Regions from separate parts of the Homo sapiens genome. Here all the other regions are linked to region 3. The links are contacts of gene promoters, found by promoter capture Hi-C in blood cells and fetal thymus (Javierre and others, 2016). All regions are on one chromosome and are shown on one strand. Each heading gives the region's core, a stretch centred on a gene start or on the middle of the fragment in contact. The rest is flanking DNA. Distances are from core to core; before and after follow the strand shown. Region 1 overlaps ZNF235 (zinc finger protein 235). Region 2 overlaps ZNF180 (zinc finger protein 180). Region 3 holds the start of ZNF155 (zinc finger protein 155). Region 4 overlaps ZNF112 (zinc finger protein 112). Region 5 overlaps ZNF233 (zinc finger protein 233). Region 6 holds the start of ZNF112 (zinc finger protein 112). Region 7 holds the start of ZNF285 (zinc finger protein 285).

Region 1 (2,700 bases), core at 61-2,560, 310 kb after region 3:
AGCAGTGAGATTGAATCAGCAATGCAAAACCTCCCAAGAACAAAAAAGCCCAGGACCAGACAAAGGTACACTGGAATTCCACAAAAGGTACAAAGAACTGGTACCAATTCTACTAAAACTCTTTCAAAAAATCTAAGAGGAGAGAATCCTCCCTAACTCATTCTAGAAAGCCACTCTTGCTCTGATACCAAAGTCAGATAAAGACACAACAAAAAAAGAAAACTACAGAGCAATATCCCTGATGAATGTAGATGCAAAAATCCTCCAAAAACAAACACAAATCCCCCCACAAAACCCCCCAAACCAAATCTAATAGCACATCAAAAAGATAAGCCACCATGATCGAGTGGGTTTTATTCCAAGGATGCGAGAATGGTTCAACATACACAAACCAATAAATGTGATTCAGCCTATAAACAGAATTAAAAACAAAAACCACATGATCATCTCAACAGATATATAAAAACCATTTGACAAAATTCAGCATCCTCTCATGATAAAAACCTTTGACAAACTAGGCACAGAAGAAACATATTTCAAAATAATAAAAGCCATATATGACAACCCATAGGTAACATACTGAATGGGGAAAAGCTGAAAGCATTCCCCCTAAGAACTGGAATAAAACAAGGATTGCCCACTTTCACCACTCCTATTTCACGTACCACTGGAAGTCCTAGCCAAAGTAATCAGGCAAGAGAAAGACAGAAAACCAATCTAAATTGGAAAAGAGTAAGTCATTTAATATCTCTGTTTTCTGACAATCTGATCTTATACCTACAAATCCCTAAAGACTCCTCCAAAAGAATCCTAGATTTGACAAATGACTTCAATAAAGTTTCAGGATTAAAAAAAATCAATATACAAAAGTCAGTAGCATTTCTATACGACAATAATGATCAGGCTAAAAACCAAATCAAGAACACAATCCAATTTATAGTATCTACAAAAAAATTAAAATACCTAGGAATGTATTTAACCAAGGAAGGGAAAGATCTAACCAAGGAAAATTATGAAACAATAATGAAAGAAGTTGTAGATGACATAAAAAAAATGGAAAAACATCCCATGTTCATGGATCGGCAGAATCAATATTGTTAAAAAGACCATACTGCCCAAAGCAATCTACAAATTCAATGCAATGGCTATCTAAATACTAATGTCATTTTTTGCAGAATGAGGAAAAACAATTCTAAAATTCATATGGAACCAAAAAAGAGCCTGAATAGACAAAGCAATCCTAAGCAAATAACAAAGCTGGAGGCATTACATTACCTGACTTCAAATTACACTACATGGCTATAGTAACCAAAACAGCATCGTACTGATATAAAAATAGATACACAGATCAATGGAATAGAAAAGAGAACCCAGAAATAAGTCACATACCTACAGCCAACTGATCTTTGATAAAGTCGAAAAAAACATACACTGGGGAAAGGACATCCTATTGAATAAATGGTGCTATTTAATCCATCTTGAGTTCATTACCTGAGATCTCCAGAGATCCATAACAGATTCTAATAATAGCCATTCTGGCTGGTATAAGATGATATCTCACCATTGTTTTAATTTGCATTTCTAGAAATCACTGGTGATTTCAACCACAGGAGGCAACCTGAAAAAGCTCCAAGTGGTCAAAGTAGAAATAACTTGGTAACAAAATAAACAATGCAATACTGGATTATAACACGAAGTATAAATAAATACATATGAGCCCATACTGATTATAAAATGGATAGTAAGTGACAATAAGGAGTTACTGTTGTAGATAGACACTGATAAATCTATGGGTGATATGACATTCTCCAGCAAAAAATAAAAGGGAAAGATAAAACAGGAACAGCAGAAAGTTGATAACTGCTAAGACAGTATGGATATACAGAGTCTATGGCATTATTTACTTTTCTATGTTTTTTAAGTTTTCAAAATAAAAAGTTTAAAGTCATAGGAAAACAAATAGGTCATCCAAATTATGTGTATGTTGGGGGAAGGGTGGAGAAGCAGAAATTATCCATTTAAACTATCAGTCAATTTTCATTAACAGAAAAAGATGTAAAATGAATGTTAAAACTGAACTGAATGGTGGGATTACAAATGGCATCCTACTAAGTCATTTTTGTCACATATCTCCCTCAGTTTGGTGGATTAGATGATATCTTAACAAAGGACATAAGCAATTTTAGAATTAATCAATTTTCTATGTTTTATACATTTTTGAAGTATATGGACCTAACAAATATATACACGTAGACTATGATTATACAGAACACTCCACCCAATAACAGCAGAATACACATTTTTCTGAAGTACATACAGAACATTTTCTAGGATACACCATATGTTAAACTACAAAAAAGCCTTAATAAATATAAAAATATTAAAATCACACAAAGTATCTCTGCTGATCAAAATGAAATGAAACTAGCAATGAATAGCAGAATAAAACCTGAAAATTCCATAAATATGTGAAAATTCAACAATACACATACAACCAATAGATCAAAGAAGAAATCACAGGGGAAACTAGAAAATATCTTGGGATAAATGAAAACGAATCCACTGCAAAAACAGTGCTAAGGGGGAAATCTATAGCTATAAATGGTTACAATGAAAAGGAAAAAGGTCTCAAATCAACATCATAACCTTATACCTTAAGGAAATGAAAAAAGTAACAAGCCATCGCCATTACCAAGACCA
Region 2 (2,700 bases), core at 195-2,694, 500 kb after region 3:
TAGGAAGTGCCTGGTTAAATAAATTATGCTTTATTCAGATGACTGAATATTATTTAGCAGCCAAGAGAAGAAATAAATTTGCATGTACCGATACATATAAATAATAGAAAGATGTCTATAATATATTGCTGAGTGAAAAAATGAAGAACATTATACAGAAGATGAATAGATTTCTATAAAATATAAATATGCACGGAAAAATCTGGAAAGATGTTCTCAAAAGCATTAAAAGGAGTTATTCTTTGAAGGGGTAGAACTGAGGAGCAGGTTCACTGTCTCTCTTTTAATGCTGCATCCATGTTTTTCAAAACCACTTATTTTAATTAAATATTTGGAAACCAGGAAAGGTGCTTCCCTCTTTAAAAATCACCTTGAAACAACGCAATTCCTTTGTAGTGTCCTCAGGTTTTTTCCTACAGGATACAATAATTCAGTCTGTTAAATGATAGCCCATTCAAGGATACTTTGCTCCTCCTCAAATCAAACACTGAAAAGCAACTACTGCTAATTTTTGATAACTCATTTCTTTAGAAGCCATTGGATCAAAAACTAAAAGAAAATAAAAGTGGCCAGGTGCAGCAGTTCATACCTGTAATCACAGTGCTTTGGGAGGCTGAGGTGGAAGGATCACTTGAGCCCAGGAGTTCGAGCCCAGCCTCAGCAACACAGTGAGGCTCCCCTGTCTATACAAAATATATAAAATAGGCCGGGCATGGTGGCTCACACCTGTAATTCTAGCACTTTGGGAGGCCGAGGTGGGCAGATTGCCTGAACTCAGGAGTTCGAGACCAGCCTGGTCAACATGGCGAAACCCCATCTCTACTAAAAATACAAAAAAATACAAATTAGCTAGGTGTGGTATACCTGTAGTCCCAGCTACTTGGGAGGCTAAGGCATGAGAATCACCTGAACCGGAAGTTGGAGTTTGCAGCAAGCTGAGACCATGCCACTTCACTCCAGCCTGGGCAAGAGAGTGAGACTCCATCTCAAAAAATAATAAATAAATAAATAAATAAATAAGCCAGGCACGGTGGTATGTGCCTACAGTCCCAGCTACTTGGGAGGCAAAGATGGGAGGATCACTTGATGTGGAGAGGTCAAGGTATAAGTGTGTCAATTTTTTCTCCTTATCTATCTAGAAAATATTTTACTATTACAGTAGGAATGGTTATTAAAAATGGCTAGCATTAATGTATTTAAAGGTAGGAAAGGATTCTCCAAACCTAAAAACACCACTGTATATTTACTGGGTAGGTTGTGAGGTTCACAATAAGTATCAAAGAGCCAGAGCTGCTGCAATGTAAAGAAGGCCCAATGTGAAAGCCAAGAGGTTGTGTTGCTTGCATTACTACCACACATACTACAACAGTTAAACTGCCTTTTTATTTTTTGTAGAAGACAGGGTCTCGTCATGTTGCCCAGACTGGTCTCAAACTGCTGGTCTCAGCGCCATGACAGTTTTGTCAGGAAGTTACCCTCTATGGTCTAAAAAGGAGAGGAACCCTCAGTTCTGGGAATTGCCCACCCCAGTCCTGGAAAACTCATGAATAATCCACCCCTTGTTTAGCAGAAAATCAAGAAATAACCATAAAAATGGGCAACCAGAAGCCCCTGGGGCTGCTCTGCTTATGGAGTAGCCATTCCTTATTCTTTTACTTTTTTGTTTGTTTGTTTGTTTTGGTTTTGGTTTTGAGACAGAGTCTCGCGCTGTCCCCAGGCTGGAGTGCAGTGGCATGATCTCAACTCACTGCAACCTCCACCTCCGGGGTTCAAGTGACTCTCCTGCCTCAGCCTCCTAAGTAGCTGGGACTACAGGCGCACATCACCACGCCCAGCTAATTTTTGTATTTTTTGTAGAGATGGGGTTTCACCATGTTGGCCAGGATGGTCTTGACCTCTTGACCTTGTGATCTGCCCACACTGGCCTCCCAAAGTGCTGGGATTACAGGCGTGAGCCACCGTGCCCAGACTACTTTTAAAAATAAACTTGACGCCCTCGCCCTCGCCCTTGCCCTCTCCCTCTCCCTCTCCCCACGGTCTCCCTCTCCCTCTCTTTCCACGGTCTCCCTCTCCTTCTCTTTCCACGGTCTCCCTCTCCCTCTCTTTCCACGGTCTCCCTCTCCTTCTCTTTCCACGGTCTCCCTCTCCCTCTCTTTCCACGGTCTCCCTCTCCCTCTCCCTCTCTTTCCACGGTCTCCCTCTCCCTCTCTTTCCACGGTCTCCCTCTCCCTCTCTTTCCACGGTCTCCCTCTGATGCCGAGCCGAAGCTGGACTGTACTGCTGCCATCTCGGCTCACTGCAACCTCCCTGCCTGATTCTCCTGCCTCAGCCTGCCGAGTGCCCGCGATTGCAGGCGTGCGCCGCCACGCCTGACTGGTTTTCGTATTTTTTTGGTGGAGACGGGGTTTCGCTGTGTTGGCCGGGCTGGTCTCCAGCTCCTAACCTGAGTGATCCGCCAGCCTCGGCCTCCCAAGGTGCTGGGATTGCAGACGGAGTCTCGTTCACTCAGTGCTCAATGGTGCCCAGGCTGGAGTGCAGTGGCGTGATCTCGGCTCGCTACAACCTCCACCTCCCAGCTGCCTGCCTTGGCCTCCCAAAGTGCCAAGATTGCAGCCTCTGCCCAGCTGCCACCCCGTCTGGGAAGTGAGGAGCGTCTCTGCCTGGCTGCCCATTGTCTGGGATGTGAGGAGCCCCTCTGCC
Region 3 (2,700 bases), core at 32-2,531:
GAGTTTTTACATGTATGCTAGGAAAAGCCTACATTGCCATGAATGGACTGATAAGGACAATTCTGGTTAGCGCTCAGAAATAGAGAATAAGAACTGTAGAGAAAACATCAATCTTGTTAGAGCATACCTAGGTAGTCATGATCAGAATGTTGGTAGAAATATGGACAGTAAAGGCCATTCTGAAGACCTCAGTCAGAAATGTTGAACATGTTATTGGAAGAGAAGAGAGCTTCTTGTTATAAAGGGACAAAGAATTTGGCTGAATTATATTCAGGTGCTAGTGTTTTATGGAAGGTAGAATTTGTGAATGATATAATTGTTTATCTGAATTAATTTCTAATCAAAGTGTTGAAGTTGCTTGAATCATCTTGACTACCCGTAGTGAAAGGCACGAAGTGAGGAATGACTGAAATAATTATTAATTAAAAGGGAAACAGAACTAAAATTTTTAAAAGTTTACAGCCTATCTACTTTGGAAAAAAAAAAAAACAGGAAACCTGAAGAATACAAGGGTATGGTTAAGCAACTAACTAATTCATGAATTTAGTATGGATTGGCCATGTCAACTGAAGCCAGGACCTATTGTCCAAGACAATGGAAGAATGACCCCAAAGGCATTTCACAGATTATGGCAGCTTCTCCTCCCATCACAGGCCCAGAGTGCAAGGACCTGGGGGACAGAAAGGGCCTTTGATGCCAGATATACCCTAATATATTAGGCACAGTTTCCTGCCTACTACGATTGAGCGTGTCAATAAATTTTTATCTCTTGGGAGGGCAGAACAGAGCAAGGATACAGCTGTAACTGGTTTAGAAATAGCAGTCACTCAATTTTCAGAGAAGTGTTCCTCATACTGTGGTTGGCACAGTCACTTTATCTAAAGAAAACCATGAAAAGTATTCTTTTTTAGTTTAGAAAAATTGATATAGAACATGAGACTCCATTTTTTTAAAATAAAAATATAGGTTGATAGGCCAGAATTCACAGGTCCACCTGCCTGAGCCAAAATTCTCACGCCTCCACAGAGCAAATGGACTCCATTTCCCAAGATACCAGCGAAACGCCTGCGGGAGTCTAATTGCCCGGTCGATGCGCAGGAAATTTGGCTCCCGCAGGCGTTTCGCGAGTAGCTTGGGAGGCGTGGGAATTTTGGCCCAGGCAGGAGGACCTGTGAATTCTGGGAAGTGGAGTCCATTTGCTCTGTGGAGTCGTGGGAACTTTGGCTCAGGCAGGCGGATTCGGGGGATTCTGGGAAGTGTAGTCCAGACGCCTGTGGCATCATCGACACTTCCGGTCTCCGAGCAGGACACTGCTACTTAACAAGGTGGTTTGAGCCAAGTATGTGTCTTGCGGGTCTTTGCGAAAGTGAACCAGTTATTAGGGGCGCCTAACGACCTGGGGGGTCAACTAAGGGGGTAAGAAGCCCTGGAGAAGACCTGAGGTTTGGAGATGCGAGGGGTGGGAGGGAAGTTTCGTTGCCGTCGATGGAGCCTTCTGGCGTTGGGGGCTGTACTCAGGTCCACCGGAGGAGTCGTCGGGGGTTCGGGGGGGGCGGGGAAGAACTCTGTCTAGTCTTGTGTGCCTGTTTAGAGGGTTTTCCAGGTGTTTGACCTCGTTCAGTCCGCCTCCCTCCACTCTTAAGTGTGCGACCTCTTTCTCGCGATATAACGTGGGGTGTTACTTAATCTCCCTGTACCTCCCATTGCCGTTTTTTAAATGAGGATTTCAGGACCATCCTGATAGAATTGTTTTAGGAGTTGAAAGTTGTGGTATAAAACAAAGACTTAACAGCTCCTGTCACTTGGTGTCCTGTTAATTTCCCGCGAAGTGGTCAGGTGCCCGGGTGGGGTCAGAGCTCCAGCTGCTCCGGCCCTTCTCTTGGAGCCCGGCAGGGCTCTGGATGATCCCGGACGCCTCTGACCTCTTTTTAGGAAGGCGTGGGTTGCATCCACGTTTCACGAAGGGAGAGGAGCATTTAACTTGTATCCGGGACGGCGACGCAGAGTGTTTGACAGCTTTCTCCTTCCCCAGCCTGACTTTTCTAAAAGAGCTGCAGGGAGGGACTTGGCTACTGAGGACAAAGCTGTCTACACGAGTGGTCTTTGGCTTTTCTCTTTTTAAAAAAAAGTTATTTATTTTGTTAGTCTGTTTTTATTATTGTTATTATTTGAGAATGAGGTTTGCTCTGTCTCCCAGGCTGGAGTGCAGCAGTGGCGCGATCTTGGCTCACTGCAACCTCCGCCTCCTGGGTTCAAGCGATTCTCTGTCCTCAGCTCCGGAGTAGCTGGGATTACAGGCATGCGTCACCATGCCCGGCTAATTTTTGTATTTTTAGTAGAGACGGGGTTTCACCATGTTGGCCAGGCTGGTCTCGAACCTGTGGTCCTAAGTGATCCGCCTGCCTCGGCCTCCCAAAGTGCTGGAATTACAGGTGTGAGCCACCGCGCCGGGCCGGTTTTTTCTTTTACAGAGATGTTCACCTCAACCAAGAGTGTATAGGATGTGTCCTTGGGCATGGGTGTTGATAATAATTAAACCTTAATTGGTAACTTAATTCTAAGGGCTTTATGGAAATAAATACATTTACGCCACACCATGGCTCTGTGGAAAGGTATTGCTCTTTTTCTTTTTTTTTTTTTTTTTTTTTTCCTGAGACGGAGTCTCGCTCTGTCGCCCAGGCTAGAGTGCAGTGGCGCGAT
Region 4 (2,700 bases), core at 17-2,516, 350 kb after region 3:
ATTTAATAGTTAGCTATAATGAACTCAGAGAAAAAAAATCTTTGTTTATGTCTTCTTCTTCTTCTTCTTTAATAAAAGCTAAGCGAGAACATCAGCTCAGGTTACCCAGGCTGAGATCACCTTCCGTTCTTACTTCGCTTTTAGATAGAGACAATACAAGGTATAGTGGTGACAATGTTTTGATCACAAATATTTAAGCTGCTGTGCTGACTCCTTTCTTAACCACTGATATGGTTTCGCTCTGCGTCCCCACCCAAATCTCATGTTGAATTGTAATTCCCAGTGTTGGAGTTGAGGCCTGGTGGGAGGTGATTGGATCATGGGGGTGCTTTCTAATGGTTTAGCACCATCCCCCAAGTGCTGTCTCGTGACAGAGTTCTCAAGAGATCTGGTTGTTTGAAAGCATGTAGCACTTCCTGCCCTCTTTCTCTTCCTCTTTCTCTGCCATGTAAAACATGCCTCCTTCCCCTTCACCATCTGCCATATTTATAAGTTTCCTGAGGCCTCCCCAGCCATGCTTCCTGTATAGCCTATGGAACCATGAGTCAATTAAACCTCTTTTCTTTATAAATTACCTGGTCTCAGGTAGTTCTTTACAGCAATGGGAGAATGGACGAATAAAGAAAATTGGTACCAGAAAAGTGGGGCATTGCTATAAAGATACCTGAAAACGTGGAAGTCACTTTGGAAACAGGTAATGGGCAGAGGTTGTAATAATTTGGAGGGTTCAGAAGAAGACAGGAAGATGAGGGAAAGTTTGGAATCTCCTAGAGAATTGTTACATGGTTTTGAACAAAATACGGATAGTGATATGGACAGTGAAGTCCAGGCTGAGGTGGTCTCAGATGGAGATGAGGAAGTTATTGGGGACTGGAACTGGTGATATATTTAGATATATTTAGGTTTGTAAATGCATTTATACATTTTCCCAACATTGGTGCTATGCTTTAGCAAAGAGACTGGCAGCATTATGCCTCTGCTCCAAAGATCTGTGGAACTTTGAACTTGATAGGGATGATTTAGGTTATCTGGTGGAATAAATTTCTAAGCAGCAAAGCATTCAAGATGTGGTCTGGCTGCTTCTAACAGCATATGCTCATATTTATGGGCAAAGAGATTATCTGAAACTGGAACTTATATTTAAAAAAGAAGCAGAGCATAAAAATTTGAAAAATTTGCAGCCTGATCATGTGGTAGAAAAGAAAAACCAATTTTCTGGGGAGAAATTCAAGGCTGCAGAAATGTGCCTAAGTAAAGAGGAGCTGAATGTTAATAGCCAAGAAAATGGGGAAAATGCCTCCAGGGCATTTCAGAGCCAGTCATGACAGTCCCTCCTACCACAGGCCTGAAGGCCTAGGAGGGAAAAATAGTTCTGTGGCTCAGGCCCAGGGCCCTGCTGTTTTCTACAGCTGAAGGACACGGCACCCTGCATTGTAGCTGCTCCAGTTCCAGCCATGGCTAAAAGGGGCCAAGGTATAGCTCAGGCCATTGCTTCAGAGGGTGCAAACCCCAAGCCTTGGCAGCTTCCACGTACTGTTGGGCCTGTGGTGTGCAGAGGGCAAGAGCTGAGGCTTGGGAACCTCTGCCCAGATTTCAGAGGATTTATAGAAACACCTGGATGTCCAGGCAGAAGTCTGCTGCAGGGGTGGAGCCCTCATGGAGAACCTCTACTAGGTCAATGGAGAAGGGAAATGTGGGGTTGGAGCCCCCAGAGTCCCCACTGAGGCATTGCCTAGTGGAGCTGTGAGAAGAGGGCCACCGTCCTCCAGACCCCAGACCCACCAACAGCTTCCACCACGTGCCTGGAAAAGATGCAGGCACTCAACGCCAGCTCATGAAAATAGCCAAGTGGGCTATACCCTGCAGAGCCACAGAGGCAGAGATGCCCAAGGCCTTGGGAGCTCATCCCTTGCATCAGCATGCCTGGATGTGAGACATGGAGTCAAAGGAGATTATTTTCGAACTCTGAGATTTAATGACTGCCCTGCTGGGTTTCAGATTGGCATGGGGCCTGCAGCCCCTTTGTTTTGCCTGATTTCTCCCTTTCAGAATGGGGGCATTTACCCAAAGGCTGTAGCCCCATTGTATCTTGGAAGTAACTAGTTTGTTTATTAGAGTATTATGCATCCATTACAAAAACAAGAGTTATAATCTTAGACTGGGAGGGATTTCCCCAAGGTAACGGCAAAGAAGAAAAATTAGTATATTAAAAACAAGAATGTACATAACAAATTTTTACATTAATATGAGGTATATGATCATGTTAGTATAGGTAAAAAAATTAAGGTATTTTAAAAGGTGACATTATGTTCCAGCTGACAGTATCAGGAAGGTAGACTGGCACAGCATGGCCTCGGCCTGTTTCTGTACAACCCAGGAGCCAAGAACGCTTTCTACATTTTTAAAGTGGTGTAAGAAAAACAAAGACTGTGACAAAGAGCACATGTGGCCAGGAAAATCTAAAGTATTTACTACTTGGACCTTTAGAGAAAAAGTTTAACTCCTACTCTCAAGGGTACCATGTAGGACCCTGAATCTTAACCAAGATGGAAACAAACCATTATAGAAATGAGTTAATTTGTTTTGAATTTTCTGTTGACTCTTTCTTCTTATCCAGCAGCATCCTTAGCTACACAGTTGCGACGGTGGCTTTTGATGTCAGTCTTGAGGACTCAAGAAACTATCAAAATGTTTGGATTC
Region 5 (2,700 bases), core at 191-2,690, 290 kb after region 3:
ATCAAGACCTAATAATAAATCTTCAAGGCAAGAGGTCCAAGTTGCTAAAACAAGGTGATTCCCCCTGTCAGGTGTGGACAGGAGAATCTAGTCAGGTCTCTGAAGATGAGAACTATGTAATAAAGCTACAAGGGGAGAGTTCAAATAGCATAAAAAATCAAGAGCTTCCATTGAGGACCACCTGGGATTTCTGGAGGAAAATGTATCTGAGAGAACCACAGAATTATCAGAGTAGGTGTCAGCAAATTGATGTAAAAAATAAGCTCTGTAAATGTGATCATTGTGTTAGGCAAAGAATTGCTCATCAACATGATGATCATGGAGTACACAAAAGAGAGAAAGCTTTTAGCCACAATAATTGTGGAAAAGACTGTGTGAAGGAATCATCCCAGCATAGCATAATCCAATCAGGAGAGCAAACCTCTGATGAAAATGGAAAAGGCTTAAGTGTTGGCTCTAATCTTGAACTTCACCAGCAACTACACTTAAGAGACAAGCCTCATGTAAATGTTGAGTACGGGAAGGGCATAGGTTACAGCTCAGGGCTTCCCAGGCATCAGTGTTTCCACATAGGAGAGAAATGCTATAGGAATGGTGACAGTGGTGAGGGCTTCAGTCAGGGCTCACATCTGCAACCTCATCAGAGAGTCAGCACAGGAGAGAACCTCTACAGATGTCAGGTATATGCCCGGAGCTCCAACCAGAACTCCTGTCTTCCCTCTCATGAGCTTACTCACCCAGGAGAGAAGTTGTGTACATGTGGCAGGTGTGGGAAGGGCTTCCATCATAGCTTAGATTTTGACATTCACTGTGTAGACAGTGCTGGAGAGAGAGCCTGTAAATGTGATGTATATGATAAAGGCTTCAGTCAGACATCACAACTTCAAGCCCATCAGAGAGGTCACTCTAGAGACAAGACATACAAATGGGAAGTAAGTGACAGGATATTTAATAGGAATTCTGGTCTTCACCAGAGAGTTCACACTGGAGAGAAACCATATAAATGTGAGGTATGTGATAAGGGCTTCAGTAAGGCCTCAAATCTTCAAGCCCATCAGAGAATCCACACTGGAGAGAAACCCTACAAATGTGATGTGTGTGATAAGAACTTCAGCCGTAATTCCCACCTTCAGGCCCATCAGAGAGTCCATACAGGAGAGAAACCCTACAAATGTGACACATGTGGGAAGGACTTCAGTCAGATCTCTCATCTTCAGGCCCATCAGAGAGTTCACAAAGGAGAGAAGCCATACAAATGTGAGACATGTGGGAAGGGCTTTAGTCAGAGTTCGCATCTCCAAGACCATCAGCAAGTCCATACTGGAGAGAATCCCTACAAATGTGATGTGTGTGGGAAAGGCTTCAGTTGGAGTTCACATCTTCAAGCCCATCAGAGAGTCCACACAGGAGAGAAACCATACAAATGTGAAGAATGTAGGAAAGGCTTCATCTGGAACTCATATCTTCATGTTCATCAGAGGATCCACACGGGAGAGAAACCCTATAAATGTGGCATGTGTGGTAAGAGCTTCAGTCAGACTTCACATCTTCAAGCCCATCAGAGAGTCCATACTGGAGAGAAACCATACAAATGTTTTGTGTGTGGTAAGGGCTTTAGTAAGAGTTCGTTGTCTTCAGATTCATCAGAGAGTCCATGATGGTGATGAATCTATTAATCATGATGAGTGTGATAGGGGTGCTCTTCAAGACTTAGACTTCCCATTTTCCTCAGAAAATCCACACAGCACAGAATATTTATAAAATGTCATGTTTTAAGAATTCATGAGCTGAGTTTTTATAGTTATCTGAATTCCATTGAAGAAAACCTATTTTTGTATGAATATGACCAGTTTCAAGCAGAGCCCAAAATGTCACAGTTGTCAAGAGAACACACAACAGAGAAACCCTATAAAGAATGATACAATATGTTTCAATCAGAACCTTCACATCCAATAAGCAATATGCAGGAGTGAAGCCTTCAAAATGATAAGTAAGGTCAGAATTTAGCAAAAGTATAATGAGGGACATGACAAAATCTGTGTCCACTAGAATCTAAGCTCCATGCAGGAACATTGTTTACTGCTGCATGATCGTGACCTTGAACAAGTACCTAAGAAATAGTGGCTTCCCTGGAATTGTTTAACTTGATAGGAAAAATCTATCATATATAGGACATATATTTGAATATTTTAGTGAGCTCAGCCCCAATTCGTCATTATAATTGTACTGGGAAAAGGATTCTTGCAAGAAGCCTTAAAATGAATTCAAGGAAATGACATTTAATTAAAACACATAAAACCAAGCAGTCTACAATCTGAGTAATGTTTTTGCAATTGGCTTCTGTCCTCAGTTCAGCTTCATTTTCCAAGCAGTATAATAGGCCAAAGTTTCTATCTGATTATTTAAGACTTTTTCCATACAGTGTACAGCTGTGCTATGTTTCTTTGGCGGGGGCTTTTGCTATCTTTCTTTTTGGGAGCTAGTGTGATAGAAACAGACTGAATGAAGAAAAAAATCCCAACTGGTTTTTAGTTCCATAAAGCTTCATGAGAAAGGTTTTGCAAAAAAGGGGAATATCATATGGCATGCATTTTAGATGTTAAACTAAGCTGTTAAGGACACAGCATTTTGGACAACACCCCATACTTCTCAGACATCATTACACGTTATGCAGTGTGTAATGATCAAATCATAGTAATT
Region 6 (2,700 bases), core at 155-2,654, 370 kb after region 3:
GGAAACACAACCTCAGTTATAAGGCATGGTCTATAAATGTTGTTACCATTTCTAACAATTTGTTTCTTAGGAATTTTTTTAGATTATCAAAACATAACCAATCATTGCTCTTCAACTCTTCAATACTCTGAAATAGTTGGTGGATTATATAACCTACCAATATTAAGTGAGATTAAGGAATATATCCAGGGGTTATTTCTATTCTATTTTGATACCTAATTCCAATTCCACACTGCAAATCCTTGATGCCAGCTGTCTGTTGAGTAGCTACTCTAACCATAAACCCTTAACAACCTTGTACGATGTGCTGGGCACATGGAGAAAAGTATGACATGGTCCCAGAAATAGAAGAACTTTCAGTGTATGGATTTAGATAAAGAGAAATAAGAAACAAAGAGCTATAAGACTTAGGCAAGGCAAACTCTATACTGGAACACAAAATTCATCACCATCCTTCTCCAAGGTACAATTCTCTTGCATCCCCTAGCTTCCTCAAGTAAGGACCATTCTGTAAGCTTCAACGAATGAAAACCTTAGAGTAGCTGCTGGCATTTCCCTTTCAAAGTCTTGGATATAAGCAATTTATGATCATCAACGTTTGGCAATTATGACAATCAATCAAACGATATTATACTAAGTCGATGTTAGAGATTTGCTTTAAAATACTGAAACAAAAAAAAAAGGGACAGGGAGTTGATACAAGACTGGCAAATGTTAACAAAGGTTGAAGCTGGGTGACGCTTCCACAGAATTATTTTAGTCATATTACATTTGGCTATGCTTACAAATTTCCATAGTAAAAACTTAAGGGAAAAATAAAAGCTATGAAGCCTATTTGGTTAAACATGGGTGAAAATCCAAAAAGAAGTCTACTGGAAGAGGAAAACATTGAAATATTAATATTGTTACTGTTATATCTTGTGGTTAGCATAATTTTTTTCTTTTACACTTTCTATACTTTCTTAATCTTTTACAATATGCAATAATTTATATAATCAGAATATGAACTATAAATATTTCAAATAAAATTAAATTACAGATAATTTTAAAAAATCAAAAATTCAAAGCTTATTAACCTTGCTTTCACGGTCCTCTAGTAAAATCCAAATATGTGTTCTGAAGCTGATACTAAACACATCAAGAACTAAGGCAATGGATGGAAACTATTTGAATTCAAATCCCAGCTCAGGCTCTTACCACCTGGGTGACCTAAAGATAAACCACCTATGCTCTATGTCTGTTTGCTTATCTTTAAAATGGGAATGGTGGTACCCAACCCAGGCTCAAAGGGCTCTTGTGAGGATTAAAGATGTTAATTCATATCAAACTCTTAGAATGATCAGCACTAAATGTTTAAATACTATCTTTATTACTCATGCCCAAGTACTCCCTCATCCGTTTCTGCATTTATTGAACAAATATCAGCGCATCTTCGAGCAGAATTTGCCAGTGAATGATGGAAATATCGTCTTCCCTGAAAAGAAAGGATGATAAGTACTACTCAGGTGAGACTCCGCTGCCAAGTGCCAAAGGGTCATTCCCTCCTTCTCCCTGCAGCCTTTTTCAAGAAGTCAAGGCTAAAGAAGGAAAGGAGGATGGGGGAAATCAGAACTCCTGCATGAATTACAATGGACTACCCAGACAGCCAGGAGTGATCCTGTCCTAAAGAAAAATCTCTCAGTGATCAGAAAAGGGCCAGGGATACTCTGCAGCTGGAGCTCTGACCCCATCCTGGGTTCACAGAAGCTTTCAGGGAACTGAGTCCTTCTCAGAAAATTAAAAAGTGCTAATAACAAGAGACCCATCTTCTACCACCTGTCAGGCTCTGTTCCAAGTCTTTTTATTTAACTCTCAAAAGAACTCCATTAGATAGATACTAGTACCATTTTAAAGAAAAAGAAACATAGGCAGAGAGATTAAGATACTCGCCTGTTATTATACTGCTAGGAAGTGGCAGAGCTGGTTGATGGTCAGGGGAAAGGGCTGGGGAAGTACAGAACCCAGGAGATCCCCAGTCCCTGCGATGTAGGATCTTGGACCCCCGGCGCTAAGTGGGGATGCGCCAGCTGCCCCACACTGGAGAAGGCTCATTCAAAGATAACACAAATCCCGCCCTTCGCCGCAAGTGGATTATCCTCCCCTAGAGCTACTGCCCGGTTGCTACTGGACCCCAACAAAACGAACATCAGTATGGACGGAAGGAGCAGGAAGCAGGGCGGGGAGCGCTCACCTTTCTGGGAGGAACGAAGGCCGCGGCCTAGCGTACCTGGGGCGGAAGTGGCTCTGCCTACCGAGACCTCCTGGACTACGCTTCCCAGAATTCCCGACGGGATCAGGGAGACGGCCTCAGCCTCCTAGAGCGGAAGTTACCCGACTACACGGGGCTCCCAAACTACATTTCCCAGAATTCCTAGAAAAACTCTCCACTTATCTGCCTGCCTAGGACGCAAGTACCGGGTGCCAAGCTGAGAGCCTGGATGATATTTCACATGTGCCGGTCCCAAAGGAATTCCTTAACTCCCCCTTCCTGGAACCGAAATGCTTCCAAAGACAGAGAGCTCGTATATATATTTCTCTGTTTTACCCAGCGGACCGTGCATGAAAGGCGCCTTTCCTGGCGCGTGTGTCTCTGACCCTGTGGATCTTCTGGACAATTCCCGGAATTTCTTGCAGGGTAGCACTTTCCCTTAAGTCGTCTCT
Region 7 (2,700 bases), core at 43-2,542, 420 kb after region 3:
GGAAAAGTGCAGCTGAATCTGGAACTGCAATTGCCCAGAAACACGATCAGAAATGTAATAAATGCTGCTATTACACCTAAAATAATTAACACTAAATCTCTAACTTTATCAAATATACAGAGAGTGTTCAAACTTCAAATTTGTTGAGTGTAATTTAACAACTTATATTTGCTAATGTGCTTTATAATACTCAAAGTCCCTACTCCCTGGCTCACAGCATGTGAGGTGAGAATGGAGTTAATAATTTGGGGCAGTTCTTTTCTTTTCTTTTTTCTTTGAGACAGAGTCTGGCTCTGTCGCCCAGGCTGGAGTGCAGTGGCGTGATCTCAGCTCACTGCAAGCTCCGCCTCCCGGGTTCACGCCATTCTCCTGCCTCAGCCTCCCGAGTAGCTGGGACTACAGGCGCCTGCCACCGTGCCCGGCTAATTTTTTGTAATTGTTTTTTGTAGTAGAGACGGGGTTTCACCGTGTTAGCCAGGATGGTCTCGATCTCCTGACCTCGTGATCCGCCCACTTTGGCCTCCCAAAGTGCTGGGATTACAGGCGTGAGGCACCGCGCCAGGCCTGGGACAGTTCTTTTCAAAATGTATTCGGTGACATTAAACTCTGGAGTTATTACAGTATTACAGTCTGAGTTGTTTCTTTATTGCCAAAAGCCAGAACCTCTGCCTTGAAGTCATAAATGCCCCAATGGAGTCAGAGCTGCCAAAATCCAGAGTTCAGACCCAAGACAACTCCCCATCCAAGAACCTAGGGGTGCTGAGCCAGAATCGCCCCCACCAAACTGAGCGAGAACAGCCGAAGCCATCCTCTATATCCAGAGACTAGCTGCTTAAGCAAATCCCTCATCCCATTCAGGGACGCACAGTCCAGCCATTACTCCAAAACCCTGAGCCAGCGCCCCTCTGCCCTCATCCAGAGATGCACATCCCAAGACTGACCCTAAGCTTCGACCCGAGGAGGCACAGCGCAAGTCGCTGTCACGAAACGTGAAGATGCACTGTTTTGTCAAACCCAGGGCTGCTCCCCAAACCGAGCCCACGCTCGAGCCCACGCTCTTCCCATCCTATCCCGGGTAGGTCGGGCCGCTGAACTTCCCTAGTCTACCCCACCTACGAGGCCTTATCATTGGTTACCAGTCCCCTCTTCCACTCCTCCTACTTCAGTCCACAGGGACGGGTCACAGCTGCACATCCTACACTCCTACTCCTGGCTACGCCTCCAAGAGGGGCGCGGTACAGACGGGACTCACCCCAGCGTCCCAAACAATGTCGCCCGCAGCGTGCGTCCAGTACCATGGCGCATGCGCAAGGAGGCCTATGGCCTACAATCCCCAGAAAGCCCCGCGCGCAGCAGTGGCCATTCGCAAGGCTACCCTGGTGAAGGTGGCCTTTGACTTCCGTGCATTTGGAAGTCCTTTGACTTCCGTGCATTCGTCTAAAATAACGACAATCATAATAACGATAAAATAATGAAATGTTAAATAAATCACTATCAACGATGAAAAGAAGTTTCAATATTTTACTACTTGGAAATGGGCACTTTACCGTTTTAGTGAAGACTTTTATAAGTTCTTATTTTATAGGCATGTCTTTTAACGTTAAAACCACGAAACTTTTCAATTAACACTCACTTAAATAATTCCCTCCCCGCCCCCCACCATGTTTTATTTCTGTTGATGAAAACTCTGGATAATCTACACTTGCGATATAACATAGCCCTGTAATTTATTTCCTAGTCTCAGAAGAAGCAGAAGGAATTAACAACTATTGTCTGAATCCTTAACAGGGGAATTGCAGGAGTACTGAGAGTGTCCTAAAAGAGACACATTACAACATAACAAGAAAACGCGGGAAGTTTTCAGATTCTTTTTGAAAATTTGCCCTTGTTGAGACTTAGGCTTTATTTTACTTCATGTTATTGCATTTAAGATTTAAGATTTCTATTAAAGAAAAATTTGGGTACCCTAAATGGGGTAAGAAAATTGAATAGGAATTCCATTAGAGGCCCACAGTTTTAGCCTGGAGGAAAGCCCTGATAACGTGTGAGAACAATCTGTCTCCTAGGAAAGGTCACCTGGTCCTGCTGGCAGAGTCTCTGTTTGGAATATCTGGCTGGCATTCCCTTTTCCACGCACCCTCAAGCTGTAGGGGTGGTGAGGCGGTTCCAGTCCTAGACTAGATAGAGAAGTGAAGACCCCCACCTCTACGCAATGGGCAGGAAATGGTTGAATAATATCCAACTATAGCTTGACATCGCAGCTTAGGGCACATAAAGGGACAGTGCAATTGTTTTGGCTTATCTCTGTCTTTTGATGTTTACATGTTTGATGTTCTTATATATTGCTCTAAGTTGAAGGATTACTTGATTTAATTTGACATACTTGAATTTTAAAAAACGAGTTCAGGAACATTTTTATTTTTGACCTAATACAAGGTTAATTTTTGTGACATCTGTGTCTGTTGGAAAACAATGTGTCTTCTCTATCAGATGGATATGCATACATTTATATTTTCCCCAGACTTGCTAACTGTGCTATTTAAATTTCCTACATGCTTATTTGTGCTTACTTAGATTTTTTCATTATGCATCTGTCAACGATTGAAAAGTGCATGTCAAAAAGGTTCCCAGTCTGGGCGTGGTGGCTCAAGCCTGTAATCTCAGTACTTTGGGAGGCCGAGGTGGGCAGATCACGCGGTG

The links. Contacts are between HindIII fragments. The CHiCAGO score rates a contact against its expected background, and 5 or more counts as called.
Region 1: a contact is called between a fragment that was not itself captured here and the fragment with the promoter of ZNF155 in region 3, in 8 of 17 cell types (naive CD8 T cells, total CD4 T cells, non-activated CD4 T cells and 5 more). The highest score is 7.3, in naive CD8 T cells.
Region 2: a contact is called between a fragment that was not itself captured here and the fragment with the promoter of ZNF155 in region 3, in 12 of 17 cell types (total B cells, monocytes, non-activated CD4 T cells and 9 more). The highest score is 11.3, in total B cells.
Region 4: a contact is called between a fragment that was not itself captured here and the fragment with the promoter of ZNF155 in region 3, in 5 of 17 cell types (M2 macrophages, naive CD8 T cells, total CD4 T cells and 2 more). The highest score is 6.7, in M2 macrophages.
Region 5: a fragment that was not itself captured here is called in contact with the fragment with the promoter of ZNF155 in region 3 in 5 of 17 cell types (total B cells, naive CD8 T cells, total CD4 T cells and 2 more); the score reaches 5.9 in total B cells.
Region 6: a contact is called between a fragment that was not itself captured here and the fragment with the promoter of ZNF155 in region 3, in 1 of 17 cell types (M1 macrophages). The highest score is 5.1, in M1 macrophages.
Region 7: the fragment with the promoter of ZNF285 here is called in contact with the fragment with the promoter of ZNF155 in region 3 in 11 of 17 cell types (erythroblasts, monocytes, total B cells and 8 more); the score reaches 8.6 in erythroblasts.

What each region holds. Positions count from the first base shown.
Region 1 is chr19:44,294,402-44,297,101 of GRCh38, forward strand. The region is part of intron 4 of ZNF235 (zinc finger protein 235); the gene reads right to left. It also overlaps the pseudogene NDUFA3P1. Among named protein-coding and RNA genes, the nearest start is that of ZNF235, 9.3 kb to the right of the region's middle. The HindIII fragment of the contact is 6,273 bases long and covers 1-2,700 here.
Region 2 is chr19:44,486,055-44,488,754 of GRCh38, forward strand. The region is part of intron 2 of ZNF180 (zinc finger protein 180); the gene reads right to left. Among named protein-coding and RNA genes, the nearest start is that of ZNF180, 13 kb to the right of the region's middle. The HindIII fragment of the contact is 7,682 bases long and covers 1-2,700 here.
Region 3 is chr19:43,982,907-43,985,606 of GRCh38, forward strand. It overlaps ZNF155 (zinc finger protein 155), which reads left to right and starts at 1,282. Exons shown (of 5, transcript NM_198089.3): 1 at 1,282-1,339. RefSeq lists a silencer at 979-1,178. The HindIII fragment of the contact is 8,717 bases long and covers 1-2,700 here.
Region 4 is chr19:44,333,216-44,335,915 of GRCh38, forward strand. All of the region lies in intron 3 of ZNF112 (zinc finger protein 112), which reads right to left. Among named protein-coding and RNA genes, the nearest start is that of ZNF112, 22 kb to the right of the region's middle. The HindIII fragment of the contact is 4,114 bases long and covers 1-2,700 here.
Region 5 is chr19:44,273,016-44,275,715 of GRCh38, forward strand. ZNF233 (zinc finger protein 233) reads left to right here. Exons shown (of 5, transcript NM_001207005.2): 5 at 1-2,302. The coding sequence ends at 1,658. Among named protein-coding and RNA genes, the nearest start is that of ZNF233, 14 kb to the left of the region's middle. The HindIII fragment of the contact is 2,200 bases long and covers 341-2,540 here.
Region 6 is chr19:44,354,396-44,357,095 of GRCh38, forward strand. It overlaps ZNF112 (zinc finger protein 112), which reads right to left and starts at 2,285. Exons shown (of 4, transcript NM_013380.4): 1 at 2,231-2,285. RefSeq lists an enhancer at 2,094-2,594. The HindIII fragment of the contact is 679 bases long and covers 1,066-1,744 here.
Region 7 is chr19:44,400,316-44,403,015 of GRCh38, forward strand. It overlaps ZNF285 (zinc finger protein 285), which reads right to left and starts at 1,293. Exons shown (of 4, transcript NM_152354.6): 1 at 1,253-1,293. RefSeq lists an enhancer at 690-1,446. The HindIII fragment of the contact is 3,728 bases long and covers 946-2,700 here.